2 separate regions of the Homo sapiens genome follow, and region 2 is linked to region 1. Evidence: promoter capture Hi-C in human tissues and cell types (Jung and others, 2019). All regions are on one chromosome and are shown on one strand. The core of a region is centred on a gene start or on the middle of the fragment in contact, and the rest is flanking DNA. Distances in the headings are between cores, read along the strand shown. Region 1 holds the start of GZMH (granzyme H). Region 2 has its middle 10 kb from the start of CTSG.

What was found. The method cuts DNA at HindIII sites, captures the fragments that hold promoters and counts their contacts. A contact is called where the count stands out against the background at its distance.
Region 2: a contact is called between a fragment that was not itself captured here and the fragment with the promoter of GZMH in region 1, in 1 of the 25 tissues and cell types used here (small bowel).

The regions. Positions count from the first base shown.
Region 1 is chr14:24,606,664-24,613,688 of GRCh38, forward strand. GZMH (granzyme H) reads right to left here and starts at 3,022. Exons shown (of 5, transcript NM_033423.5): 1 at 2,896-3,022; 2 at 1,602-1,749; 3 at 949-1,084; 4 at 486-743; 5 at 1-83. The coding sequence starts at 2,950. The HindIII fragment of the contact is 6,565 bases long and covers 1-5,482 here.
Region 2 is chr14:24,562,571-24,569,364 of GRCh38, forward strand. No RefSeq gene overlaps it. Among named protein-coding and RNA genes, the nearest start is that of CTSG, 10 kb to the right of the region's middle. The HindIII fragment of the contact is 4,178 bases long and covers 1-3,788 here.

The DNA.
Region 1 (7,025 bases), core at 1,772-4,271:
CCTGGAGGTGTCCCTTTTTTGTTTCCATAGGAGAGAATACCTTGGGCTACGTCCTTACACACGAGGGGCCCCCCGGAGTCCCCCTGTGAACAGAGAGAGGAAAGACTGAGCTAGTGTTCCCTGGGATGGGTGGTCTCTGTTATGGATTTTGTGTGACATCAGTGCCAGGCAGGCCTTGTCACTCACCTCCCTCAGTCCTGGGTCTCCAGCATGGCCCTGGCTGTGCTTTCTGGCTCTCCCCAGACCAAGCCTTTCTCTGCAATTCTCACGGACACTTTGGTGATAAGTGACTGTCGGATGACAGATCCTTCCCCTCCAGCCACCCCAGTCCACCCAAGGAGTGGACTAAAGACTAGATTCCAGGGGGACACAGGCTGCCCAAGCTCTGGGCTGAGAGCATAAAGATCTGGCCACTGTCATACCCCAGAACTCCCTCAAGTTCCTCTCTCCCTGTGGTCTTTCTGGGTAGAGGCTGGAAACCCAACCTTGAAACCGGTCTGTGTCTTCTTTGGATCCCCCACACAAATCTCAGTGGCTCTGCTGTAATTGCCATGGAAGAGACGTTCACACTGGCAGTCCTTCTGCACTGTCAGCAACACTTCCTGCAGTGTGGTTGCTAAAGTGCTCATTGAGACATAACCCCAGCCAGCCACACTGCACAGCTGCCCTGGCTTCACCTGGGCCTTGCTGCTAGGTAGCCTGAGAGGCCGCACAGCTGTGGTCCACTTGGCCTTTCTCTCCAGCTGGTGGGGAAGAAGCAAGAAAGTCCAGGTCAGGCAATGGCCTTCTGGGCCCCGACACAGTGATGGGGCTGCACAATCTTCCCTCTCCTCTAAGGCACAGGAACTGACCAAGAGGTCAGGATGGAAAGGAGGAAAGGGCCGGCATCCCAGTGGGAGTGGAACCAACTGGACCAAGAAGAGCAAGAGTGGCAGGAGTGTGCCTCACCTGCAGTAGCATGATGTCGTTGGAGAAGTTCTTAGGATTATAGGCTGGATGGGGGATGGGTCTTTTCACAGGGATAAACTGCTGGGTCCGCTCCTGTTCCTTGATATTGTGGGCCCCCAAGGTGACATTTATGGAGCTGCACAGAGAGCAGAGTGAGGATGGGGGTGGAGTCACAGGGGATAGAGCCCAGGAGCAGTGAAGAGCAGATGACAGCTGTGGCAGGGTAGGGCTGCAGCTGAGGGGAAGTTGAAGGGACAGGAGGGCTCCAGGGCTGAGTGACTGTGCCCTCTACTTCACAAAGACATGAAGAGTAGGGCTTCTGGGGGCTCTCTCTTGCCTTCAGGAAATATCATGAAATTGCTCGAGTTTGCATTTTGATCCTTAATGCATGGATTCAACCTTTACTACTGCCTTATTGGGCCAGTGTGTGAAACCATGCCACTTGCTCTGACCTCTGACCCTCTGACCCTCTGACCCTGTCCTATTTCTCAGCCTTTCATCATCTTAGTCCTATTCCCAGGTGGCTGCTCCGATGAGCTTTCATGGGCTTGTGTTACCAGGAACTCTGGAAGCTCCCCTGGGCTGCAGTCCCCAGGAGAAAACAAGGGTCCCTGTAGGGGGAACTCAGGAGGTGAGCTGGTGCTGCTCCTTACCTTCCCTGGCAGTGAGCAGCTGTCAGCACAAAGTCCTTTCTCACTAGGATGCCGCCACACCTCTTCCGACTCTTCTCTTGCAGAAACTGAACAAAGGCCATGTAGGGGCGGGAGTGGGGCTTGGCCTCATGGCCCCCGATGATCTCCTCTGAAAGGAAAGACTGGAAGATAAAGTAGCTGGGGATGGCTGCAGTCAGGAGAGAAGGCTTAGGACGACAGTGATTGAGGGTGAAGTGTTTTGTGTGCTGCAGACAGTGAGGGAGGGGTCCTCCTGAGCTCTGCAGGCAGTACTCCTTGCAGGCAGAGCAAGCTTTTCTGAACTTTAAGTCTCAGAACCTTCTCTCAGAAAGAATGGACAGTGCTTGACTTCTGCATCCTACTGCAGAAACACACATGGAGGAAGAAAGATCTATTTTCACAGTGGTAGAGCCCCAGAGGATCCTGGACAGGACTTCCCAGGCTCCTCCTTTTTAGTGAGTCTCTCTGATTCCTCTGAGCCTCTGCTGTCCTCCTGATTGGTGCCATTTTCTAATGATCTACCCATGAGCTTCTGGAGTTGGATTTTCTAAAATTCTCATGTGCCAGGGCTGAACACATTCTAGGTTCTCAGTAAGTGTTGTTTGGTGCATAAATGAATAGCCTCCAATTAGCCTTTGGCTGAGGTTTAGTGGGGGTAGTGCTGGTGGGATTCAGGACCTCAGGGATGTTAGAGGGGGTTATCACCAGGTCAGTGGAGTAGCTGAGGGCCTGCAAAGGCAGAAGGAAGTGGAGAAATCAACTAAAAATGAATCGCAAAGCCCAGGTGGAGCCAAGGTAATGGGAGAGCTATGGACACAGTCATCTTGCCATCTCTGAGATCAGTTGCACCATGGGCTTCCCTCCTGGCAGGGGTGACTGGGTGGGGGCACTGAATAAGTGGTTCTTAAGCTGAGTCCAGTAACAACTCCTATGACTGCAACTTGGTGTCTGAGCTCCTCTTTCCTGGGTTGGAGTGTAGAGTAATAATTACTTATCTTTTTTAGCTTCACATTCCCTACCAAATGCCTTTCTAAGAACAATCCACACTCCAGGTCATAAAGGAGAGGTCTAGGGAGAGGCTAACACCCATTAAACCTTTTAGGGAACACCCTTCATTTTTCGATCTTTGCTGAGTGTCTATCTAGCCTCAGATTTATAAGTCTGGGTGTGGAATGGGAGGTGGGCTCAGATTGAGGAAAATTCCTGACCAGTGCTCATGGGTACAGGGTATCTTATAAGATGGGTTCAGGCCTCTGGAATAGGGATAGTCACTTACCTGTCCCAGCCCCAGGGGTCAGAAGAAAGGCCAACAGGAGGAGGAATGGCTGCATTTTCTCAGGAAGGCTGCCCAGGTCAGAGCTGTTGGTGTTGACTCCTTCCAGAAACAAATGCTGGAGGGAGATGAAGGAGGGATGGGTACAGTAAACTCAGAGACCTCCTAGACTTGTCCCCTTCTGGTTTTGATGGGTGTCATTATAGAAGGTGGTTTATTAAAATTATCTGGTTTGGTTTAAGTTGACATGGCACTGTCACATTTACACCCCTGCTGCTGAGTAACAAGGTGAAAGCAAGAATAAAGAACAAGGAGGTGGAGCTGTTGAAGCTGTGGCTGCAGCTAGCAGAAAGGCTGGTACTGCAGAAGCTCCTCAGTGACTGAGAACCAAGAATGTCTCCTTTTCTCAGTTCTTGGCTCTTTTTCTACTCAGATAAAATCATGAATAATTATTTAGCAAGCCAGATCCAGGGATATGAGAGACATGGCTCTTGCCCTTGAAGAATTGATGGTTAGCAAGAGTAGACTGAAAATCTGGGGTTAGAGCACAAGATGGTAAGGGCCGTGGTGGGGAAATCTGCCTGTTGGTGTGAGACGGAGGCTGGACTTGCCTTAGCAGTATGCAGAGTTGCACACACCCAACAAATACTGCAAATGGCAACCCATTCCTATCTTACCACTATCTCAGATTCATATTTTTGGGATATTTAGAATCCCCTCTTTAAATATAAATATTCTGTGACAAAGATAACTTTTTTTATTCCACAGTTCTGCACAAAAGTTCTGGACTTGATATTTATTGAACCAAAATGAGTCATCATTGGGTCCACTGAAGTGTAGTGGACTGATTGCTTTATGCTTTGGTTATTTAGCCCTCCTTAAGCTGAGGTGGGGACTGTTCCACTCCATCTATGGTGCTTATGAATGAGGAGGGGATTTCCCTTGAGAAATGCTAGTTGTTGTTGCCAGGTGATGGAAAAATGGATGCTGATCATCCTGATAATAATTGTTCACTAAGGCCGGGCGCGGTGGCTCATGCCTGTAATCCTAGCACTTTGGGAGGCCAAGACGGGTGGATCACGAGGTCAGGAGATCGAGACCATCCTGGTTAACATGGTGAAACCCCATCTCTACTAAAAATACAAAAAATTAGCCGGGCGTGGTGGCGGGCTCCTGTAGTTCCAGCTACTTGGGAGGCGGAGGCAGGAGAATGGCGTCAACCCAGGTGGAGCTTGCAGTGAGCTGAGATCGCGCCACTGCACTCCAGCCTGGGTGACAGAGCGAGACTCCATCTCAAAAACAAACAAACAAACAAACAAAAAACTGTCCACTAAGTATTCTCTCAGTTTCCAGAGAGCCATGTCTCTGATGTCCCTTGGCTCACAGTCATAGGCTGTCCATAAACAAAAATGTGTATATATACATATGTTTGTATATTTATGTATATGAATATATATAAATATATATGTATAGTTAAGTAGGAACATGTAAATGATAAAATTAAACTTACCAAAAATTCTACCACCGGAGATCATTATTAATGCTTAAGCATGTTTCCTTCTACTATTTTTCTAGGTATTTATAAGGTGCTATTCCTGCTATTACTTTAACAGAACTGGGATAGGACTTTAGGTGATAGACTTTTTTGTGATGAATTTTCCAGGTGTTCTTTGAGCTTCTTGTATTTGGATGTCTAGGTATCTAGCAAGGACAGGGGAGTTTTCTTCAATTATTTCCTCAAATAAGGTTTTCAAGCTTTTAGATTTCTCTTCTTCCTCAGGAACACCAATTATTCTTAGGTTTGACTGTTTAACATAATCCCACATTTCTTGGAGGCTTTGTTCATTTTTTAAAAATTATTTTTTCTTAGTCTTTGTTTGATTGGGTTAATTTGAAAGCATTGTCTTTGCGCTCTGAAGTTTTTTCTTCCGCTTGTTCTAGTCTAGTGTTGAAACTTTCCAGTGGATTTTGTATTTCTCTAAGCATGGCTTTCATTTCCAGAAGTTGTGATTATTTTTTCTTTATGATATCTATTTCTCTGGGGAATTTTTCACCCATATCCTATATTTATGTATATATATATTTTTTAATTTTTAAAGTTGTTTTTTCACCTTTCTCTGGTATCTCCTTGAGTAGCTTAATGATCTTCTGGATTGTTTATCTGGCAATTCAGAGATTTCTTCTTGGTTTGGATCCATTGCTGGGGAGCTAGTGTGATCTTTTGGAGGTGATATAGAACTCTGTTTTATCATATTACCAGAATTACCTTTCTAGTTCCTTATCATTTGGGTAGACTATTTCAGTGGAAAGGTCTGGAACTCAAGTCCTGCTGTTCAGATTCTATTATCCCATGGGGTGATCCTTTGATGTGGTGCTCTCCCCCTTCCCCTAGGGATGGGACTTTCTGACCACTGGACTGCATTGGCTGTTACTGCTTTTCTGGGTCTAGCCTCCCAGTGGCGCTACCAGGTTCCAGCTGGTGCTGGGGAATGTCTGCAAAGAGTCCTGTGATGTGATCTCTCTTCAGGTCTCCCAGCCATGGATACCATTACCTGCTCTGGTGGAGGTGGAAGGGGAGTGAAGTAGACTCTGTGAGAGTCCTTGGTTGTAGATATGTGTAGTGTGCTGGGTTTCTTGAATGCTGGTTATGCTAGCAGTGAAGTTTTCATGTGGACACACTCAGGACCTCTGTTTAGCCAGGATGTTGCAGGCATTGGAATTAGGTGTTATCTTCTCCTTCCTGGGTTCAGGGTTATTCTGTCATGAGTTGCTGTAATGGCCTGTGTTGTTTGGCCTCCAGCCAAGAAGTGGTGCTTTCAAGAGAGCACCAGCTGCATTGGTAGTAGAGGGATCTAGGTTTGCCCTAAGTTGGCCAGGGTGAGTATTTTGGTTTCTCAGATGATGGGTGGGGCCTGAAAGCTCCCAAGAGTTTCTATCTTTTGTGTTTGGTTACCAGGGTGAGTAAAGAAATACCATCATGTTGGGGCAGGGTTAGGTGGGTCTGGGCTCAGAGTCTCCTTGGGTGGGGTTTGCTGTGGCCACTGTGCGGGATGTGGGGGTGGTTCTTAGGCCAATGGGGTTATTTTCCAGAGGGGATCTTGGCTACCTCTGTTGTGTCATATAATTCACCAGGGAAGTGGCGGAAAGCTGGTAGCGAGAGGTCTCACCCAGCTCCCACACAGTTGGCAAGGCCAGTCTCACTCCCAAAGTGCCCCACTCAGATCTTGCCCAAGGCTGTGAACTTTCCCACTGAGAAAGCAAGCATGGATTTCAGATATCACCCCTCCCCATCTGCCCACTCCAACGGGAGTGGCTTCTTTGCTTCTGAGTTCATGTGCTCATATTGCCAAAGCTCCCACTCGTCCCCTAGACTCCACTAAAGAAAGTTTGTGTCCAATTGAAACCACTACCAATTTCAGTTGGAAGCTTCCTTCACCTGGTGACCCCTCCCCAATTCCACTGGCTGCCTTCCCTGAGAGATCCTGTGAGATATAGTCAGGAATGGCTTCCCTGGGCTCAAGCTGAAGATTGGAAGTGCCTTGCAGTCTTCTGATACTGATACTTCTACTTTTATATTTTGTGTGACTGCCTACATTTGTTTCAGTTCAAGGTAAGGTTAAATTCTCCCTTGATCTGGATTTTCAGATTCCCCAGTGGGGATGTGTGTTCAGAGGCAGGTTTTTTCCCTCTCACACTTTGGGAACTTACAGTTTTTCACCTGTTTTGCAAAATTTGCAGCAGTGTCCTGCTTCTTTCAAAGGGTGTGTGAATTCCTTTGGTTTTCCTGGTGTGTTCCCGTGGTGGTTCTTGGAACAAAAGAACACAGTATGAGTCTTCACATACTGTTGTGTCCATCTAAGTGGGAGTTGCATGTGGGTTTAAAGAAACCTGACTCATGAAGGACTTCCCATTTTTTGTACTGCCATGATCATCAGTGCATTATTACTGTCTCACACTGTTTCTTCATAGTGTCTCTCATCCTTCAGATCTCACCTTTTACTGGTATTATTATGGATCCTAGTAATTTATTTAAAAAACAGCAAAAGCTTAAACTCTCCTCCTTTGAGTCTCATGGGGTTGGAGTGGAGTTGTTGGTTTGGATCCTTGCCCAGGTAGCTTTCAGATCCAGCCCT
Region 2 (6,794 bases), core at 450-2,949, 45 kb before region 1:
GACAGGAAGATAAGGGAAAATTTGAAACTTCCTAGATACTTGTTGAGTAGTTGTGACTCAAATGCTGATAGTGATATTGACAGAGATGGCCAGGCTCATGAAGTCTTAGATGGAGATGAGGAACTTATTGGGAAATGGAGCAAAGGTCACTTTTGTTATGCCTTAGCAAAGAACTTGGCTGCAATATACCCCTGCTCTAGGGATTTGTGGAACTTTGAACTCAAGAGTGATGATTTAGGGTATCTGGTGGAAGACATGTCTAAGCAGCAAAGCATTCAAGATGTGTTGTTGCTGCTTCTAACAGCCTGTGCTCATATGCATAAGCAAATAAATGACTTAAAGTTGGAAGTTATATTTAAAGGGGAAGCAGAGCATAAAAGTTTGAAACATTTGCAGCCTAGCCATGTGGTAGAAAAGAAAAGCGCATTTTCAGGTGAGGAATTCAAGCAGACTGCAGAAATTTGCATAAGTCAAAAGGAGCCAAGTGCTAATAGCCAGGACAATGGAGAAAAGGCCTGGAAGGCATTTCAAAAAACTTTGAGGCACCTTCTCCCATCAACTTCTGGGGAAGCCTCAAGAAACTTACAATCATGGTGGAAGGCAATGATTGTGTTTCCTGAGGACTAGCAGGTTTTGTGGGCCAGGCCCAAGGCCCTGCTACCCTGTGCAGCCTCAGGACACTGCTGCATGCATCCCAGCTGCTCTAGTTCTAGCCATGGTTCAGACGGGCTGTCGTACAGCTTGGGCTGCTGCTTCAGAGGGTGCAAGCTGCAAGCCTTGGCAGATTCCACGTGGTGTTAATCCTGCAAGTGTGCAGGATACAAGAGCTGAGGCTTAGGAGCCTTCACCTAGATTTCAGAGGATGTATGGAAAAGCCTGGGTGTCCAGGTAGAAGCTTGCTGCAGGGACAGAGCCCTTATGGAGCACCCCTATTACAGTAGTGGGGAGGGGAAATGTGGAGTTGGAGCTCCACACCGAGTCCCCACTGGGGCACTGCCTAGTGGAGCTATGAGAAGGGAGCTACCATCCTCCAGACACCAGAATGGTAGATCCACTGACAGCTTGCACCCTGCACTTGAAAAAGCCACAGGCAGTCAATGCCAGCCTGTGAAAGGAGCTGTGAGAACAGCCTTGGAGGCGTAACCCTGCAAAGCCACAGTGGGGGAGCTGCCCAGGGCCTTGAGAATCCACCCCTCACACCAGTGTGCCCTGGATGTAGGACATGGAGTCAAAGGAGATTATTTTGGGGCTTTAAGATTTACTGACTGCCCTCGGGGCTTCAGACTTTGATGGGGCCTGTAGCCCCTTTCTTTAGGCCATTTTCTCCCTGTTGGAATGTCAGTATTAACTCAGTGCCTGTATGCTTATTGTATCTTGGAAGTAACTAACTTGTATTTTATTTTACAGGCTCATAGGTGGAAAGGAGTAGCTTTGTCTCAGATGGGAATTTGGACCTTTGAATTAATGCTGGAATGAGTTAAGACTTTGGAGGACTGTTGAAAAGGAATGATTATATTATGAAATGAGAGAAGGACATGAGATTTGGGAGGGTCCAGGAGTGGAATGACATGGTTTGGATCTGTGTTCTCACCCAAATATCATGCTTAATTGTAACCCTCAATGTTGGAGGATATCAATGTTGGGGTCTGGTAGGAGGTAATTGGATCATGGGGGTGGATTTCTCATAAATGATTTATCACCATTCCACTTGGTACTGTCCTCATGATTGTGAGTGAGTTCTCTTGAAATCTGGTCTTTTAAAAGTGTGTGGCACCGCCCCCCTCCAATACCTTGCTCCTGCTCCCACCATGTGAGATGCCTTGCTTCCCCTTTGCCTTCTGCCATGATTGTAAGCTTCCTGAGGTCTGCCCAGAGGCTGAGCAGATGCCAGCATCATACTTCCTGTACAGTCCACAGAACTGTGAGCCAATTAAACCTCTTCTATTTATAAATTACCCAGGTATTTCTGTATAGCAATGCAAGAACAGACTAATAAATCTGAAGGAAAACCCATTTTCAGAAGAACATAACGGGATCAAGAGTCACTTAAGTGTGTCTTATTTTTAGCCCCAAATTACTAGAAGCATTAGTGTGTTCTTGCATTGCTATGAAAATACTTGAGACTGGATAATTTATAAAGAAAAGAGGTTTAATTGGCTTACAGTTCTGCAGGCCACATATGAAGCATAGTGCTGGCATTTGTTGCTGGTGAGAGCCTCAGGAAGCTTACAATCATGGTGGAAGGTGAAGGGGAGCCAGAATGTCACATGGTGAGAGGAGGAGCAAGAAAGAGAGAAGGGGGAGGTCCCAGACTGTTTTAAACAACCAGATCATTTGTGAACTAACTGATACTTATCAGAAAGGTGATGGTGCTAAACCATTCATGAGGGATCTGACATGATCTAATCACCTCCCACCAGCCCCCATCTGCAACATTGGAAATCACATTTAAACATGAGATTTAGAGGGGCCAAAGGTCCAAACAATATCCTTAGATATGTAAGGAAAGAAAAAGTATGATTCATACTCAGGAAAATGGCAATCTACAGCCTTGACTATGAAGGGAAATGATGTCAGATGGTTTCTCAAATCTACAGAAAGCAATGAAAAGTACTAGTGATGGTGAATATAGACATCTAGTTTGAAGCTATATAGTTGCAATGTTTCTATATTTTTTCTAAAATAAAAATGAATACCATAATCTTTATATTTTCCACTAAAAGGAATGCTGAGATATAGCTCAAAGACAATAAAGAAATTAACAAGGAAAAGTGGAAAATATATTAGGCCAGGTGTGGTGGCTCACACTTGTAATCCTAGCACTTTGGGAAGCCAAGGCAGGTGAATTGCTTGAGCTCAGGTGTTTGAGACTAGCCTGGGAAACATGGTGAAACCCCATCTCTACAAAAAATACAAATAGTAGCCAGGTGTGGTGGTGCACACCTGTAGTCTCAGCTACTTGGGAGGCTGAGCCAGGGGGTAGAGGTTGCAGTGAGCCAAGACTGTGCCACTGCACTTCAGCCTGTGTGACAGAGCCAGACCTGTCTCAAAAAAAAAAAAAAAAAAAGTGGGAAACCTATTTGACAAAAAAGAAAGCAAGAAGCTGGCAAGAGAGAAGCAAAGTCTATGAGATAAATAGAAAACTAATCGCAAAATAGCAGATTTAAGTTTAATCATAATAATTGGATTAAATATAAACGGAATAAGCACTCTAATCAAGGGGCAAGGACCAATTATATGCTGTCTTTAAGTAACACACTTTAACTACAAAGACACAAATAGGTTCATATTCAAAAAATGAGAAAATATCTCATGCACACTCTAATCAAAAGAAGTCTGTAGTGGCTTATCTGGTTGGGGACTGGCTGAGAGCCAGGAAAGGCTTCTGAATGTGAGGAAACAGTGTAAGAGAAACCCCCAGGGATCCACACTCCAAAATGGTCTTTTATGATCTTGGCTATGGGAGAATCTCTTGATTCACTAAGGCCTCAGGACTGACATATGTAGCTGCTTAGAGATTGCACAGAGATATTGCTCCAGAAAGGGAACTCACTACAAAATCCCAAAGGCATCCGAGCCTAGAACAGCTTCAGCTGGACACCATTCTCGACAGCCTAGATATTGGGGATCTACAGACATGGCTGCTGCTCCAAAAAGGGAGAAGGGAGACCAGGCACTCTTATGCACCCCTGGGAGAGTCCCTACCATCCTGCTGTGTGCTCCTGTTGAGAATGAGACATGAGTGAACCATACTCTAAACAGCTTCTTGCCCATACTGCTTCCTTGGGGAAGGGGGCATCCGCTCTGGTCCCAAGCTCAAGATGCCATCTTGAGAGTTTAATGCTGGGCTTCACCTCACCCTTGGGCTGAGCTTGGGCTCACGTGGCTGCAACCACCCCCCAGCCAAAGAACAGCAGGGAAACCAGCTGCTGCTACACTTATCTAGAATGATACCCACTTCCCTACAACCATGCTGCTGTAAGACTGAGATGTAAGTAGACCACACTTCTTACAGATTCTTGCCCACACTGCCAGCCTGTAAAAGGTTCCACCTTCCCAGGTTGCAGACCCTTGGTGCCATTTTGAGAGTTTAACACTGGCCTGTGCTCTGCCCTTGGGCAAAGTAAGCACTGACATGGCTACAGCTTCTGCCCAGCTGAGGAGGGACACGGAAATCACACTCTCCTATGCATACCTAGGACAATACCTAGCACCCTGATAAGGGCTGCTGTGAGACTGTGACTTCAGTGGATGGCAGTCTTCACAGCTTCTTGCCCATGCTGTTCATCTGAGGGAGGCCCTGCTGTCTCTTGTCACAGACCCACAGCCAACACCATTTTGAGAGCTTAACATTGGGCTTTGCCCTGCCTTTAGGCCAAGTTCAAGGCAACATGACTGCAGCTGCCACCCAGCTGAGGCAGAGACAAGGGAGACCAAGCTCTCCTAAGCACACATAGTACAATACCCACTGTCTTTCTACAGATATTTGTGGGACTGAGGACTAGTCTTCCCAACCCATCACAGCTTCCAGACCACCAATATAGACCACTTGGGTTTCAGTGCTCCATCACTGCTACTGCTATCACCCGCATTACACCAGCTGCCCAGGGGCCTGAGAACCTGAACACGCACAAGCCCTTAACTCCCATTACTAGAACACTTTTAAGCAAGCCATCTGGAGGCCCAAGAATCAGCCCTCTGGGACACACTAACACCAATGCCAAAGTAAACTTCTCTGGGGCCTAAAAACAGGCACACTCAGCCTGCTGCTGCCACCACTGGGGCTTGAAGACTGGCTCAGCTGGTGTCCAAATCCTCAGCTAAACTTAACCACAGCCTTAACTAATAACTATACTTAAGCCACTGAGGATATCACAGATACCACTGACGCTGTGTGCTGCTGAATAAGACATACAAAGGTCACACTACCACAGGCACTCCAAATTAAAGCCAAAGTGTCCTACTATATATATACATCTTCAGAAAAAAATTGTCCCCTAAAAAAGCATTTCAAAAAATTGGAACAAGCTATATCAGATGCTCAGATGTTAATAGAAGGACACAGGATTCACAAAAGGTAAGGAAATATGACACACCAAAGGACCACAACAATTATCCGGCAACATATTCCAACCAAAAATAATTGCTCAATATTCCAGATAAAGAATTCAAAATATTGATTCTGAAGAAGTGCAATGAGATGCAAGAGAAATCTGCATCAAACAAATAAATCAGAAAGGCATTCAAGAAATGAATGAGAAATTTACCAAGGAGATAGATACCTTAAAAAAAAAAAGCATAAGTTCTGGAATTGAAAAGCTCATTGAAAGAAATAAAAAAAATATTTGAAAGCTTCAATAATAGACTAGATCTAACAGAAGAAACAATCTCAGAATTTGAATACAGGTCTTTTGAAATAATCCAGCCAGACAAAAATAAGGAAAAAAGAATAAAAAATAATGAACAAAGCAGATGTTTGGGACTATATAAAGCAAACAAACTTAAAAATTATTGGTGTTCCCAAGGAGGAAAAGAGATCAGAGTTTAGAAACCCTGTTTAAGGAGGTAATCTATGAAAACTTCCCAAGTCTAGCAAGAAAGTTAGACACCCAGGTATAGGAGGCCTAGCAATCTCCATGAAAATACATTGCAAAAAGGATTTCACCATGGCATATTATATTCAGAATGTCTAAAGTCAAGGTAGAAGAAAGAATTTTAAAATTAGCAAGAGAAAAGCATCTAGTCACCTGTAAAGGAAACCTTATTGAACTAACAGCAGACTTTTCAGCAGATACCTTACACAGGAGAAGAGAATGATATGGTATATTCAAAGTACTGAAAGGAAAAAATTGTCAGTCTAGATTTTTATTTTCTGCCAGAATAAGCTTCATAAATGAAGGAGAAATAAAGTTTTTCCCAGAGAAGCAAACACTGAGGGAAATTGTCACCACTATACCAGCCCTAAAGGAAATGCTCAAAGGGGTCTTAAACATGGAAACAGAAGGTTGATATTCACCATCACAGAAACAAATGAAAATATAAAACTCATAGGTCTTATAAAACAATCACACAAAGGAGGAAGAGAAAAGGATCAAATGGCAACATGACAGAATTTCATCAAACCACAAAGAGAAAAACACAGAGAAAAAAAAAAGAAAGAAATAATTTATAAAACAACTTGAAAACAATTAACAGTGACAGGAATAAAGCTTTACATATCAATATCAACCTTGAATGTAAATGGACTAAATGCTCCACTTAAAAGATATAGATTGGGCCGGGCGCGGTGGCTCACGCCTGTAATCCCAGCACTTTGGGAGGCCGAGGCGGGCGGATCACGAGGTCAGGAGATCGAGACCATCCCGGCTAAAACAGTGAAACCCCGTCTCTACTAAAAATACAAAAAATTAGCCGGGCGTAGTGGCGGGCGCCTGTAGTCTCAGCTACTTGGGAGGCTGAGGCAGGAGAATGGCATGAACCCGGGAGGCGGAGCTTGCAGTGAGCCGAGATCCCGCCACTGCACTCCAGCCTGGGCGACAGAGCGAGACTCCGTCTCAAAAAAAAAAAAAAAAAAAAGATATAGATTGGCAGAATGCATTAAAAACATGACTGAACTATATTCTACATACAAAACTCATCTTACCAATAAAGACACACATAGACTCAAAGCAAAGAGGTGGAAATAGATATTCTACACAAAAGGAAACCAAAAGTTAGCAGAAGTAGATATATTGTATCAGATAAAACAGACTTTAAATAAAAAGCAGGAAAAAAGACAAAGAAGGTCATCATAT